5 separate regions of the Homo sapiens genome follow, and regions 1, 2, 3 and 5 are each linked to region 4. The links are contacts of gene promoters, found by promoter capture Hi-C in blood cells and fetal thymus (Javierre and others, 2016). All regions are on one chromosome and are shown on one strand. The core of a region is centred on a gene start or on the middle of the fragment in contact, and the rest is flanking DNA. Distances in the headings are between cores, read along the strand shown.

Evidence for each region. The method cuts DNA at HindIII sites, captures the fragments that hold promoters and counts their contacts. A CHiCAGO score of 5 or more calls a contact.
Region 1: a fragment that was not itself captured here is called in contact with the fragment with the promoter of ERI2 in region 4 in 4 of 17 cell types (monocytes, M2 macrophages, M1 macrophages and 1 more); the score reaches 5.9 in monocytes.
Region 2: a contact is called between a fragment that was not itself captured here and the fragment with the promoter of ERI2 in region 4, in 4 of 17 cell types (M2 macrophages, monocytes, endothelial precursors and 1 more). The highest score is 8.7, in M2 macrophages.
Region 3: a fragment that was not itself captured here is called in contact with the fragment with the promoter of ERI2 in region 4 in 4 of 17 cell types (monocytes, M1 macrophages, M2 macrophages and 1 more); the score reaches 6.4 in monocytes.
Region 5: a contact is called between a fragment that was not itself captured here and the fragment with the promoter of ERI2 in region 4, in 3 of 17 cell types (endothelial precursors, erythroblasts and monocytes). The highest score is 8.7, in endothelial precursors.

The regions. Positions count from the first base shown.
Region 1 is chr16:21,133,775-21,136,474 of GRCh38, reverse strand. DNAH3 (dynein axonemal heavy chain 3) reads left to right here. Exons shown (of 62, transcript NM_001347886.2): 7 at 1-151; 8 at 2,021-2,216. Among named protein-coding and RNA genes, the nearest start is that of DNAH3, 16 kb to the left of the region's middle. The HindIII fragment of the contact is 288 bases long and covers 1,116-1,403 here.
Region 2 is chr16:21,098,797-21,101,496 of GRCh38, reverse strand. All of the region lies in intron 16 of DNAH3 (dynein axonemal heavy chain 3), which reads left to right. Among named protein-coding and RNA genes, the nearest start is that of DNAH3, 51 kb to the left of the region's middle. The HindIII fragment of the contact is 3,136 bases long and covers 1-2,700 here.
Region 3 is chr16:21,063,635-21,066,355 of GRCh38, reverse strand. The region is part of intron 24 of DNAH3 (dynein axonemal heavy chain 3); the gene reads left to right. Among named protein-coding and RNA genes, the nearest start is that of DNAH3, 86 kb to the left of the region's middle. The HindIII fragment of the contact is 4,788 bases long and covers 1-2,721 here.
Region 4 is chr16:20,805,222-20,807,921 of GRCh38, reverse strand. ERI2 (ERI1 exoribonuclease family member 2) reads left to right here and starts at 1,450. Exons shown (of 9, transcript NM_001142725.2): 1 at 1,450-1,514. The coding sequence starts at 1,492. REXO5 (RNA exonuclease 5) reads right to left here and starts at 1,395. Exons shown (of 20, transcript NM_030941.3): 1 at 1,217-1,395; 2 at 831-970. The coding sequence starts at 968. RefSeq lists enhancers at 591-730, 1,451-1,560, 1,309-2,254. The HindIII fragment of the contact is 22,874 bases long and covers 1-2,700 here.
Region 5 is chr16:21,300,444-21,303,143 of GRCh38, reverse strand. It overlaps a transcript of CRYM not described here and the pseudogene ABCA15P. Among named protein-coding and RNA genes, the nearest start is that of CRYM, 24 kb to the right of the region's middle. RefSeq lists an enhancer at 168-756 and a silencer at 1,199-1,458. The HindIII fragment of the contact is 2,136 bases long and covers 271-2,406 here.

The DNA.
Region 1 (2,700 bases), core at 10-2,509, 330 kb before region 4:
ATGATTGCCCCTGAGGAGGGTGAAGTGATGGTTCGGATTTCAAAGCTGATTTCTAACACGCTGCTGACGAGTCCCTTCCTGGAGCCCCTGATGGTGGTCCTCGTGCAGGAGAAGGAGAATGACTATTACTGTAGCCTCATGAAAAGCATCGGTAAGGCTGGTGGGCATAAAGGGGGCTGGGGAGCTTCTATGTAGAGGGCACCTTCTTTTTTATTTTTATTTTTGTAGAGACAAGGTCTTGCTTTGTTGCTCAGGCTGGTCTGGAACTCCTGGGCTCAAGCAATCCTCCCTCCTTAGCCTCCCAAAGTGCTAGGATTACAGGCATGAGGCACCATGCCTGGCCTGGAAGGCATCTTCTTTCTTCTCACTTTGTCATTTGCCACCCTGATTCCACTGGAAATACCCAAAACATCATTTAACCGCTAATTCAAAGTCCTGCATCCCCCTACCATCACTGATGTCTACACCAGCACTTCACATATTCACGTGCATCCCTGTAACCTGCAGATCTTAAAATGCAGATTGCGATTCAGTAGATCTGAACCTGGGGCCTGAGATTCTACATTTGTAAGTTTAAAACAATTTTTTTTTTTTTTTTTTAGCGACAAGGTCTCCCTATGTTGCCTAGGCTTGTCTTGAACATCCTGGACTCAAGAGATCCTCCTGCCTCGGCCTCCCAAAGTGCTGGGATTATAGACATGAGCCATCACACCTGGCTGAGATTCTACACTTCTTTTTTTTTTCTTTTTTGAGACAGTCTTGCTCTGTCGCCCAGGCTGAAGTGCAGTGGTGTGATCTCTGCTCACTGCAACTGCAGAGGTTGGTCAGGATTTCAAGACCTACCTGGGCGGACCCCTGGGTTCACGCAATTCTCCTGCCTCAGCCTCCTGAGTAGCTGGGACTACAGGCACGCACCACCACTCCCAGCTAATTTTTGTATTTTTAGTAGAGACAAGGTTTCGCCATGTTGGCCAGTCTGGTCTCGAATTCATGACCTCAAGTGATCTACCCACCTCAGCCTCTCAAAGTGCTGGGATTACAGGTGTGAGCCACCGCACCCAGCCTGCTACTTGTTCTTTATGACCCAGCACAAATGTTACATCCTCTATGAAGCTTTTCTACCAACCTTTCTTAGTATGGAAAACATTTGGTCTTTAAACTTCTATTTGTAAATATAATGGATGGTATCATCCATGGTGGGTTTTTTTGTGTGCATCTATTTTGGTGTGAGAAATCAATCAGTGACTAATGAGTTATCAGCAAATCCTATTTCATTGTCCTGCCTGATACTAGACATCCTACCAGGGCTCAACCCCAGATTCTAAGTGCTCCACACCGTGAAGTCACACTCCTCCTTTCTGTAAAATACCCTCAGAAAGAAAACAAACACCAAGAGTGAAGCTTCACCAGTTGAATTATACCCAGGGGATTACCCATGACCTTGCAAATGGACAGAGGCTCATTTATATTCTAAGAGTTGAAGCTAAGGCCAGGTGTGCTAGCTCACACCTATAATCGCAGCACTTTGGGAGGCCGAGGCGGGTGGATCACCTGAGGTCAGGATTTCAAGACCAACCTGGCCAACATGGCAAAACCCTGTATCTACTGAAAATACAAAAAATTAGGCAGGTGTGGTGGCAGCCACCTGTAATCCCAGCTACTCAGGAGGCTGAGGCAGGAGAATGGCTTGAACCTAGGAGGCGGAGGTGGAGGTTGCAGTGAGCTGAGATTGAACCATTGCAATCGAGCCTGGGCGACAGAGCGAGACTCCATCTCAAAAAATAAATAAATAAATAAATAAAAAGAGTTGACTCTAAGGCCAGGCATAGCAACTCATGCCTGTAATCCCAGCACTTTGGCAGGCTGAGGTGGGAGGATCACTTGAGCCCAGGAGTTTGAGACCAGCCTGGCCAACTTAGTGAGACCCCGTCTCTATATTAAAAACAAAACTAAATGAGTTGAAGCTAAGAGCACAACCCTTAGAGCTTAATAATGAGGTGTTCGCCCTTTCCGGTTGTAGTTGATTACATCCTCATGGACCCAATGGAGAGAAAACGGCTCTTTATTGAGAGCATCCCCCGCTTGTTTCCTCAAAGAGTGATCCGGGCCCCTGTGCCCTGGCACAGTGTCTACAGGAGCGCCAAGAAGTGGAACGAGGAGCATCTGCACACGGTGAACCCCATGATGCTCAGGCTGAAAGAACTGTGGTTTGCAGAGTAAGAAGTCCCTCCCTTTTTTTTTCATTCCCTTTCTTGACCACATCCACGTGTAAGCAAGCCTATTCTGCTGTGCACAGTGGGGGTAGCCCTGACAGCATAGAGAAATGAAAGAAAAAAAAATCTAGGCCAAATATGCATGTGAATTATAAGTGACACCTTTCCTTGCAGGCTTACGTGGCCCTCCTTTGTGTCCCCAGGGCACCCTGTGCCTGTCTCTAAGCACTGGAATATCCTGCTTAATTGCACAGACTTGGAGCCAGCCTGCTCAGGTCTAACTCCTAGCTCTGCTGCTTTACAGGCATATATGTGGTCGCATCACTTTTCTGTGCCTTGCTTCCTTTACCTCTAAATTTGCGATAATGTTAATAAGAGTTTCCACTTCATAGGATTGATAAGAGGAATAAATAACTTACTACATCCAAAGCACTTAGAACAGTATCTAATATAACTTAAGCACCAGTAATTGTTAATTTGGCATTAC
Region 2 (2,700 bases), core at 18-2,517, 290 kb before region 4:
TATTCAACCTAATTTCATGAGTGCCTACTATTTGCTAATGATTGTATTATTCTATGGAATATAATATATTGGGATATATATATAGGAATTTATTTATATGAAATATGTATGGAATTTACATATATACACACACACATACACACAGCTAGTCACTGACTTACGATGGTTCAACTTACGATTCTTTGACTTTCTGATGGTGTGAAAGTGATATGTTGAGTACCCATACAACCATTATGTTTTTCACTTTCAGTACGGTATACAATAAGTTACATGGGATAGTCAACACTTTATTATAAAACAGGCTTTGTCTTAGATGATAACTGTGGACTAATGTGAGTGTTCTGAGTGCATTTAAGATAGGCTAGGCTAAGCTCTGATGTTCAGTAGGTTAGGTGTATTAAATGAATTTTCAATTTCCAGTATTTTCAAATTGCAATAGGTTTATAGGGATGTAACCCCATTGTAAGTCAAGGAGCAGTTGTTTGTATGTGTGTGTGTTGTGGGGACATGAAAGTACTTTGGAAACTATAATGTACTTAGCAATTATAAGAAATTAGAAACAATAATAATAGTAATATTTTAAGGTAATCACTGAGCTTACATGCAGTTGCCCTCTGGGAGGAATTCAAAACTGCTTTCATCAGAGATTTCTATGTGAGTATAGTATTTGGAGCTTCAAAAAGAATTTAATGATGTGAAAAGGCACTTAGCAGCACCTAATTGCATGTACAACAGAAGAATAATAAGCATTGCCTCTCTCCCCCATCATTTCATCCAACTCAGTGGTAGGTTCCGTGGTTCTGGAAGTTATGTGATATTTACACGATGGATGACTCAGGGATGTGAGCTGCTGCTCTCTGCCATAAAAGGGCAAAGGAAAACACTTTGGCACCCTGGAGGAAGAAGGGAAGACATCTTAGGGAGAGCACCCGACATTGTGTTTCACCAAAGCCTAAGGATTCAGATAGAACACGGTTCCTTGCTTATAGTGGATGTTCACCATTTTAATGAGTGAATGAATGAAATGTTTTTACACTAAGGATATTCTTGAAAATGAACACTGACCAGAGTCTAAAATTACAGCTTATTACAAAACAAAAATAAAAAGCTGAGAAAAGGAATGGAGGCCGGAATATGTGGCTCATGCTTGTAATCCCAGCACTTTGGGAGGCCAAGGTGGGCGAATCACCTGAGGTCAGGAGTTCGAGACTAGCCTGGCCAACATGGTGAAACCACATCTCTATGAAAAATACAAAAATTAGCTGGGCATGGTGGCGGGCACCTATAATCTCAGCTACTTGGGAGGCTGTGGCTGGAGAATCACTTAAAACTGGGAGGCAGAGGTTACAATGAGCCGAGATTGTGCCACTGCACTCCAGAAAGAAAGAGATAAAGAGAGAGAGAGAGACTCAAACCACTTGAAAATTAATTCTCTAAATCATGTTTAAGAAAAAAGCAACTTTAAAACTGCCATAACAGAATTAAGCATTCTTAGGATAACCAAATTTATGAAATGTCACTATAGCTGATCTCAATGACAAGTTCCCTTATTTGTTTGAAGAGTATTGATTATTTGCCATGTATCAGATGGTCTAACTGCTGAAGACACTAAAAGGAATTAAGGAGACAAGAAACATATTTATTTCCTTGAACAGGGCTGGGTAAAAATTAATAAATAAGTAAAAATCAACTATTTATAGAGTTTACATTTTAGTGAATGTGAGCAAACACTTATGTATTGACTATTGTATACCAGGCTCAATTCTGAGCTTTTTTTTGTTATTGTTGTTCTTATTGACTTTAACTATTAAGCTGGCATTTTTTCTATCCTTGTTTTATCTACCCGAGGCACAGAGAGTTTAAGTGACTTTCCCAAGACTACATAGCTACTAAGTGGCAAGGTGGGAATTTGAAGCTAGCTTGTTTGTCTCAAGACCCTGTCCACTTCACACTATATTATTCTACCTCATTAGAAAAAGGGAGCAGTTCTCATTGAGACCTGCTTTGTTGATAATATGGATGAAGTTGATAAATCTTTGGAAAGGTCTCTCCTGGTCACTGTAGCTACAGTAGCCCTCCACTTCCGTCTGCTAGTCATTCTGCCCTATTTTATTTTCTTCAGAGCATTTATTACTAACAGAAATATTTTATTGTTTGTCCTGTCTATGGATTTATTCATCCATTCATCCAACCATCCATCCATTCATCCATCCATCCATCTGTCCATCCATCCATCCATCCATCCATCCATCCATCCATCCATGTCTATTGTCTAGGTCTCCCTCAGTTAAAATAGAAGCTCCATGAAGGTAGAGAACTTAATAGCATACTTCGCAAATATATTCCTGATGCCTAGGGCAGTTATAGAATATATTAGGCACTCAATAATAAATGTCTAATGGCTGAATGAATAAACAGTATGTATACGTGTACATATATCTTATACGTATTTACCTGTACAGGAAAATATCTGGAAATGTTTAACCACCAACAGGCTCACAACAGCTCGATTTCTGGGAGGTGGTCTTATAGGTAGTTTAACTTATTTTTTCATCTTCATTTATCTTGAGAGAGAGAGAGAAAGATGGAGTTGGGAGTATTGGGGGAGGAAATCTGCAGGTAACTGATCAAATTGTCTGCAGGCTTAAATATGGGCAAGCAGTGCTGATGTTTTGAAAGTGCACAAAATGCAAAGTCCAA
Region 3 (2,721 bases), core at 137-2,636, 260 kb before region 4:
GGAAAGGTGAATTCTCACTCCTGACATTCCTGATAATCTATCCATGACTAGTTCACCATTGATGGTCACTCCATGTCATTTGACCCCACTTAGGATGTTTGATCCTAATTTACCTTTAAGAAACATAAATTTTAGCGTTTCTTTATATGGAGACAAAGTTAGTTCCCTGCTGTTTACCAAAAAAAACAAAAAAAAAAACAAAAAATGATTTGTTAGAAACTCAGAAGTATGACTGAGCACGGTGGCTTATGCCTGTAATCCCAGCACTTTGGGAGGCCGAGGGGGCGGATCACCCGAGGTCAGGAGTTCAAGACCAGCCTGGCCAACATGTTGAAACCCCGCCTCTACTAAAAATACAAAAATTAGCCAGGTGTGGTGGGGGGCACCTGTAATCCCAGCTACTTGGGAGGCTAAGGCAGGAGAATTGCTTGAACCTGGGAGGTGGAGGTTGCAGTGAGCCGAGATCATACCACTGCACTCCAGCCTGGGTGACAGAGCAAGACTCCGTCTCAAATAAATAAATAAATAAACAAACTCAGAAGTATCTTTGGTATTTATTCAATTCAGCATTATCCAATGAACTTTCTGCAATGATAGGAATGTTCTTTGTCCGTACTGTCCAATATAGTAGCCCTTAGCTGCCAGTGGCCACTGAGCACTTTATATGTGGTTGAGGTGACTGAGGAAGCCAATTTTTAACTTAGTTAATATTACTTTTTAATGTAAATAGCCACATGGGGCTAATAGCTTTTGTATTGGACAGCACAGTATAGTGGAAGGAACCCTGGTTTTGACACATAAGGCTTGGGAAGAGATTAAACTCAGGAAACACCTGAGGTTTGGGCTTCTAGTTCTAGACCCACTCCTGTTATTCCTAATTAAAATATGAATAATAGACCAGGCGTGGTGGCTCCTGCCTGTAATCCTAGCACTTTGGGAGGCCGAAGTGGGCAGATCACGTGAGGCTGGGAGTTCGAGACCAGCCTGGCCAACATGATGAAACCCTGTCTCTACTGAAAATACAAAAATCAGCTGGGCGTGGTGGTGGGTGCCTGTAATCCCAGCTATCTGGGAGGCTGAGGCAGGAGAATTGCTTGAACCCGGGAGGCAGAGATTGTGGTGAGCCGAGATGGTGCCACTGCACTCCAGCCTGGGTGACAGAGCGAGACTCTCTCTCAAAAAAAAATATGAATAATAGCACTAATATAGCATTTCCTTACACCAGGACCCTGCTCTAAGTGCTTTACACTTACTAACTAACTAATTTAATCTTTGTAATACTCTTATGGGTTTGGGAACATTATTATTGTCCCTGTTTTATAAATGAGAAAATAATGATTTGCCCAAAGATACAAGACTGGTAAAATGATCAAGCTAGAATTGATACCCAGGAAGTCTGGATAAGATATTCAGCCATTTAACCTCTCTGAGCCACATTTTTACCCTAAGTTAAACACACACACACACACACACACACACACACACACACACACACCTACCTCAATATTTATGCATTTTTATAAAATAAAATTAAACACTCTCAGCAAACACTTTGAGAATGTTGTTGATAGTCACATAATTTAAGTTAATTTCATCTTGAAAATACAGATTGCTAAAAAAAGATTTTAATTTTAAATTATACGAATGTATTATTACTCTTATGGCCATTGAGCCTTATTCATTATAGCACATGATGGAGATAGAGGGAGTGTATATCCATAGAGATCACCCATTTGAATTTCACTTGGGAGTGGGAGAAATTGACATCTCACTGGATATTTGTTAGTTGATCAGCAACAAATAATTATTACTCTTTGTACTTGCTCAACACTGTAGATACAGTGTATTCGTTTGCTTTGCTGAGTAACAAATGACCCCAAAAGTTAGAAGTGTGAAACAACAATCATGTTTCACATGATCAGTTTAGCTCAGAATTCTCTAGGTTGGCAGATTGAGCTGGGCTTGGCTGGGTGGTTCTTCTGGCCTCACTGGGGCTCACTCATGACTGCAGTCAGCCATCAGTCAGCATCCTTAATTGCTTGTCTGGTCATTGGCTTCCTACTGGCTGGACAACAGGTATTTGGGCCACATGTCTTTTATCCTGTAGAAGACTAGCCTGGGTTTATTTATATGGTGGTGGTCACAGGGTTCCTAAGAGCAGCAAGAGTGAAAGCATCATGGCCTCTTGATGCCTAGGCTTAGAACGTGCACAGACTCATGTTCACTTACATTCTATTAGCCAAAGCAAGACACAGAGCCAGCTCAAGTTTGAGAAATGTGAAAACAGACTCCACCCCTTGATGAGAGGAACTGTAAATATCGTGGCCATTTTTGTAATCCACCATATTTGGTAAAGACCATAATCACACAATCCCTCCATCATAGAACTTTCAGCCTGATGGTCACAGTACAGGTTTGAATATTGGACATTTTCTGAAGGTTTGTTGTTGCTGCTTTTAGGCCTGAACAAGAGATGAAATTGTCTTATTATCTCTAATTTAAAAGATAGTAAAGGGCTGAGTGCAGTGGCTCACATTTACAGTCCCAGTACTCTGGGAGGTGAGGTGGATGGATCACTTGAGCCCAGGAGTTTGAGACTAGCCTGGCCAACATGGCAAGACCCCATCTCTACAAAGTATACAAAAATTAGCCGTGCGTGGTGGCATGCGCCTGTAGTCCCAGCTACTCGGGAGGCTGAGGTGGGAGAATTGCTTGAGCCCT
Region 4 (2,700 bases), core at 201-2,700:
GGTTGGGGACCCCATGGACAGGCAGGTACTAGTCTGTGCACAGGGGGTTGGGGACCCCCGCCCTACTGGAATGTAAACTGCACGAGGGCAAGGAATTGTATTTTTGTGCCCCAGGATATCGATGAACATTCCTATTATGTACAGGCAGTTTTTTTTTTGTTTTGTTTTTTGTTTTTTTTTTTTAAGAGATGGGGTCCTTGCTATATTGCCCAGGCTGGTCTTGAATTCCTGGCCTCAAATGATGCTCCCGCCTTGGCCTCCCAAACTGCTGGGATTACAGGCGTGAGCCACTGCACCCGGCCCACCATCCCAGTTTTTTTTTTTTTTTTTTTTTTTCTGAGACGTGATTTCTTTCTTGTTGTCCAGGGTGGAGTGTAATGGCGTGGTCTTGGCTCATTGCAACCTCTGGTTCCTGGGTTCTAGCGATTCTCCTGCCTCAGCCTCCCAAGTAGGTGGGATTACAGTCACCCACTACCACGCCTGGCTAATTTTGTGTGTGTGTTTTTGGTAGAGACGGGGATTTCTCCATGTTGACAAGGCTGGTCTCGAACTCCTGACCTCGTGATCCGCCCGCCTCGGCCTCCCAAAGTGCTGGAATTACAGGCATGAGCCACCGCACTCGGCCGACTCACTATCCCAGTGACAGCCAATGACAGCCTTGTTGCAGGAAGGTGGTATTACACTCATTCCCATTTTAATGATCAGGGATCAGGTTCGGAGAGGCCAGGGCGGAGAGCCCGCCCGAATCCAGTGCCCCCGACGGCGGTTGGGCGAGGGTCCGGGAGCTCCAAACCGCCTAGGGCCGCCTGCTCGGGATCCCCGTTGCTCACCTTGGCCTCGGGCTGACTCTCCTCGAGATCCCAACCGGCTTTCATCGCCTCAGCTGCCCCGACCAGCTTATTTGGGGCCTGCCTGCTTTCCCTGACCTTCCTGGGGTGTCTCTCGGTCCCTTCCCTCTCTGGCTCCATGGCTGTGGAGAAAGATGAGGTAGAGCTGGGGAAACTCCAGCGCCCCTATTCCCCCGCGTGCCGCCTCCTAGCGGGAGAGCTACACGGGCTTGACAGCTTTCAACCTCCCTCGGATCCGCTTCTCAATTCAGTTTACCGAACTATCCCCGTTCCCCTAAAAAAGCGAAGGTGCCAACGATCTCCCCGTTCCGCGGACTGGACACCCGCGCCGCTCTAACCCAAACGGCTTTACCGTCCGCATCGGTTACCGGATTCTCAACGGTTCCCCAACGGCTACAACGGGCGTCTGCCTGGCAAAGAAGGAAGGTGCTGCCGAGCGGCTTCGCCGCCTAAAACCACTCCCCACGCCCCCTAGCCCGGGAAACGCAGAAGAGAAGACGGGCGGGGAGCAGAGGTTCTCCCCTCCTTAGCCACAGCTGCCAACAACAACCGCCCCTCAGCCTCGCGGGCTTTTTGAACGGACCGGAAGTAGAAGTCGAGCGACTTCCGGCAGCTGGACTTGGAAAAGCAAGGAGTGTCGGGAATGGCGACCAAGCGGCTCGCGCGGTACTCGAGGGAGTTCCGGGTCGGGGGCGGGTAGCTCCGGGTCCAGCGCTGGCGTTGGCCGCAGAGCAGGGCACGGCAGGTGGCATCTGCGGTGAGGGCCTCTATTCCCCGCAGCCCCGGCGTCTGCGACCTGCCCTCTCTGGCACGGTTGGAAAGGCGCCTCCCTGGACCTCGGTCTTCAGCCTTGGGCCACCTTCTACCCGAGGGTGACAGGAGCCCGAGGCGGACGAACCCTGGGGCCTTGACTGTGTGGCCTTGAGCCAGTGCCTGCCTATTTTAGGCCTTGGGAAACGACTGGACGTGACAGTGCCCTGCAGACTGGTTGGAGGTCTCAGGCAGGCCACACACTGAATCTGTCAAGGTGTTCAACCTGTTCGAAATGCTCGTTCCTCGGTGCTGTAAAGAAATAGAACTTAAACTTAAATTTAATTTATTTAGTAAGGCCATTTTTACTTCCTGCAGAAAGGGTACACTCGCCAGCAGTTTTGCCAGGAGAGTACACTGAACAAAGGAGACAGGGTCATTTATAACGTGGCGCGTCCACCCTACTGCTGTGTCCGGTTTCCTTTGGCTGGAACGGGACCTCACATTCTGTATTTGTCCCGACTGACTAGCAACATAGAACTTTTTAAAAGAGGCAAAGGCAGAGGAGAACAAAGGAAGAAGGAAGTAACTTGTGGAATGCTGAGAAAGGTAAAAACACTTTTAAGTAAGGAAGAGGAACAGGCTATGACCTAATGTTTGATTGGACCAGTATAAGCATGCCAGGGCAAATATTTAGGCTAAATTGTGGGAGCTAAGAACATAAAGTACATTGATTTCTTTATTATATCTAGCAGATATTTAAGAATGTTAGCACAGGTCTTTGAATAAATTTTGCTCTAAGAGAAGTTACTATTTATTCCTAATTAGACGGGGAAGGAAGTCTTTGAAGAGGAACCTCTACTTTTTACAAACCCATTTTCTAGTGATCTTTTTTTTTTTTTTTGAGACGGAGTTTTGTTGCCTAGGCTAGAGTGCAGTGGTGCGATCTCGGCTTACCATAACCTCTGCCTCCCGGGTTCAAGTCATTCTCCTGCCTCAGCCTCCCAAGTAGCTGGGATTACAGGCATGCACCACCACACCCAGCTAATTTTGTATTTTTAGTAGAAATGGGGTTTCTCTATGTTGGTCAGACTGTTCTCGA
Region 5 (2,700 bases), core at 89-2,588, 500 kb before region 4:
GGATGGGTTGTTCCCGTGCTCTTCTCATGATAGTGAGTAAGTCTCATAAGAACTGATGGTTTTCAAATGGGGAGTTTCCCTGCACAAGCTTTCTTGTCTGCCACTATGTGAGATATACCTTTCACCTTCTGCCGTGATTGTGAGGCCTCCTCAGCCACGTGGAACTGTAAGTCCAATAAACCTCTTTCTTTTGTAAATTGCCCAGTCTTGGGTATGTCTTTATCAGCAGTGTGAAAACAGATTAATACAGAGCATTTTCTTTAGAAAGCTTTTCACTGTAAATTCTTTCTCTGTCTTGAGATATCTGTAACTCTTTTTAATAGCCTCTTACTAGTTTTACAAACCAGAATCATCTTTGTCAAGGACCTGGGAGCCATTCCTTTGAAATGCAATCATCAAGGAAGACGGTCCCCCTATCTCCCAGTTTCTGTGGGAGGGTAGGAGCCTAACTTCCCTGAGAGCCAATTAGCAAACACAGCTGGCCTAATCACGGAGGAAACACTTGTAAACTCAGCAAACAACTCAGTATGCTTCCGACAGCCCTCCAGCACCTTTCTACTCTCATCCTAGAGCTTAAAAACCCTGCCCCACTTTGTTTCAGCAGAGTTAGTTTAGACTGAGTTCTGGTCTCTCTTCCCTAGGACAACAGCTTTGCATAAAGTATTCCTTACATATGTGACTTTCTCTGGTGTAATTTATGCTTTCACAAAGGAAAACTAAGACAAATTAAACTACCTATAATCACTGAACTTCCACAGCCCCTTCTGCCATTTATGGAACACTTAACATGTTCTCGCAATGTAAGTATCAGGACTGCCCTCTGAGTTGGATACAATAGCATCCTTTCCTCTTATAGTTATTTTCAGATATAAGCCTTAGGAAATGGAGGCTTAGAGAAACCAAGCAATTTGCCATAGGTCACAGCAAATAAATTCTGGACTAGTCAGGACTAGGGACAAGGCATTTGCCTCCAAAGTCAGTGCGTTCAAGCACTTTGCATAGCCAATATAAAATTCCTAACAGTGCTTCTATTTGATTTGATTGTGTGTATGTGTGTGTGGGTGTGTGTGTGTTGGCGGGGGGATGAGGAAGTCTCTGGAGGATTTATATGCGTGAGTTTTGTTTGGGGGTCGCCCTTTTGGGCTCTGCGCGCCCATCGCGGCTAGCGGGTGGGCCTCCCGGGCGTCGGGGAGCAGCTGCAAGCGCAGGGGGACGCCGGCAGAAGAAGGACGCGCCAGGACTCCCTAGCACGCACCCTCAGGCCTCGCCGCTGCCGCCTCCGCCTCCGCCGCTGAAGGGCGCGCGTCCACCCGGCGGGACTCCTCCTCCCAACGCCCTCCCCAACCACCAGCCGCCCGCGGGCAGGTTGGCAGCCTGGCCCTCGCGCGGACCCGGCCGGGAGCTGGCTGCACTAGGGCTGGGGGCGCGCAGTGCGCGGAGCGGTAGGAGTCAGCGGTGCGGAAGGCAGGAGGTGCGGGTGAAGCTGTCGGCGGTGCTCGAGGGGAGCACGCAAGAACCTCCTCAGTCCCTCTTCCGCACGTGCGCCCACGAGTGTAGTCCCCAGTTTGTTCCACCTATTATCCCGCAGCTCCAGTGCGCCCCACCTGTTGCCTCACCAGCCCAACGTTACTTCTTCCCTGCTTCCTCGCCAGCCCGTCTGGGGGCGGAGACCTCACCCACCGCCCCACCCACCTCGTCTCATGCTCCCACCCACCTCGTCCCATGCGCACACCCATCTCGTCCCTTGCGCTCACCCACCTCGTCCCATGCGCCCTACCCTATGCCCCAAGTCCCTGAAAGGGCCCCACCTAGGTACCCTTTTGGGTCGTCTTCAGGTTCTTTGCCTTGTCGACCCTCCTGGACGACCCCACATTTCTCCGCCTCTCGCGGGCTTCTCTCTCCCTCGTGTGCCATGGTCACCTTCAGCTGGCCCAGCCGCTGATGACAGAAGTTTAAGAAGATTCATGAGCCGCTGCTCCTCAGGGTCTACTGGAGTTTAGCAGATAACTTCCCAAAGGCCCGGGGTCCTGCAAACCCCTCATGCGGGCCACCCAAAAGATTCCGTCCTGGAGCAGACCCCGCGCCACGCGCGCTGTACTCGCGTTCCTTTTTCCAGCCAGCGCAGCCCTGCGGCTTCTGTCCGGGACGGTTCTGCGCGTGGGACGCCCAGCCCGCTTCATCTGCGCCCGCTGCCTTTACCCGCCAGCCACTCCGGCGTTTCCACCTCCGTGTATTTCTCATGCTCCCCACGTTCTATAATGCTTGCTCCTCTTGGCGCGCCCCACCCCAATTCTCGCATCCAGTGTGGCTTCCTGTTTAGAATCGCAGCTTCTGATTGGATCACAGGCCAAATTCACTCTTCCCTGCAATGCCGGATACGACTTGCTCCAGCTCCGAAGTTAAGCTTTGTCAGGAGAGGGCGCAAGAGGAACACTGCAGGACAAGGAGTTCTCTTCCTGGTTGGGGAAAAATCCAGGACTGTATAGAACATCCTCCGCCCCAAACTGGGAAAGGAGCCAACAGACCAAAGAATGACTCAGACCAGTCCAGCTTGATGAGTAGATGAGTTTATTGGGACTCACGTGTAGGGCATTTCTTTTTTTTTTCTTTTTCTGTTTTTTTTTTTTTTTTAAGAGGGAATCTCATGGCACCTCGTTTTCATCATCACTGGATGATTTCTCTGGGTTAGCAAAGGTCAGG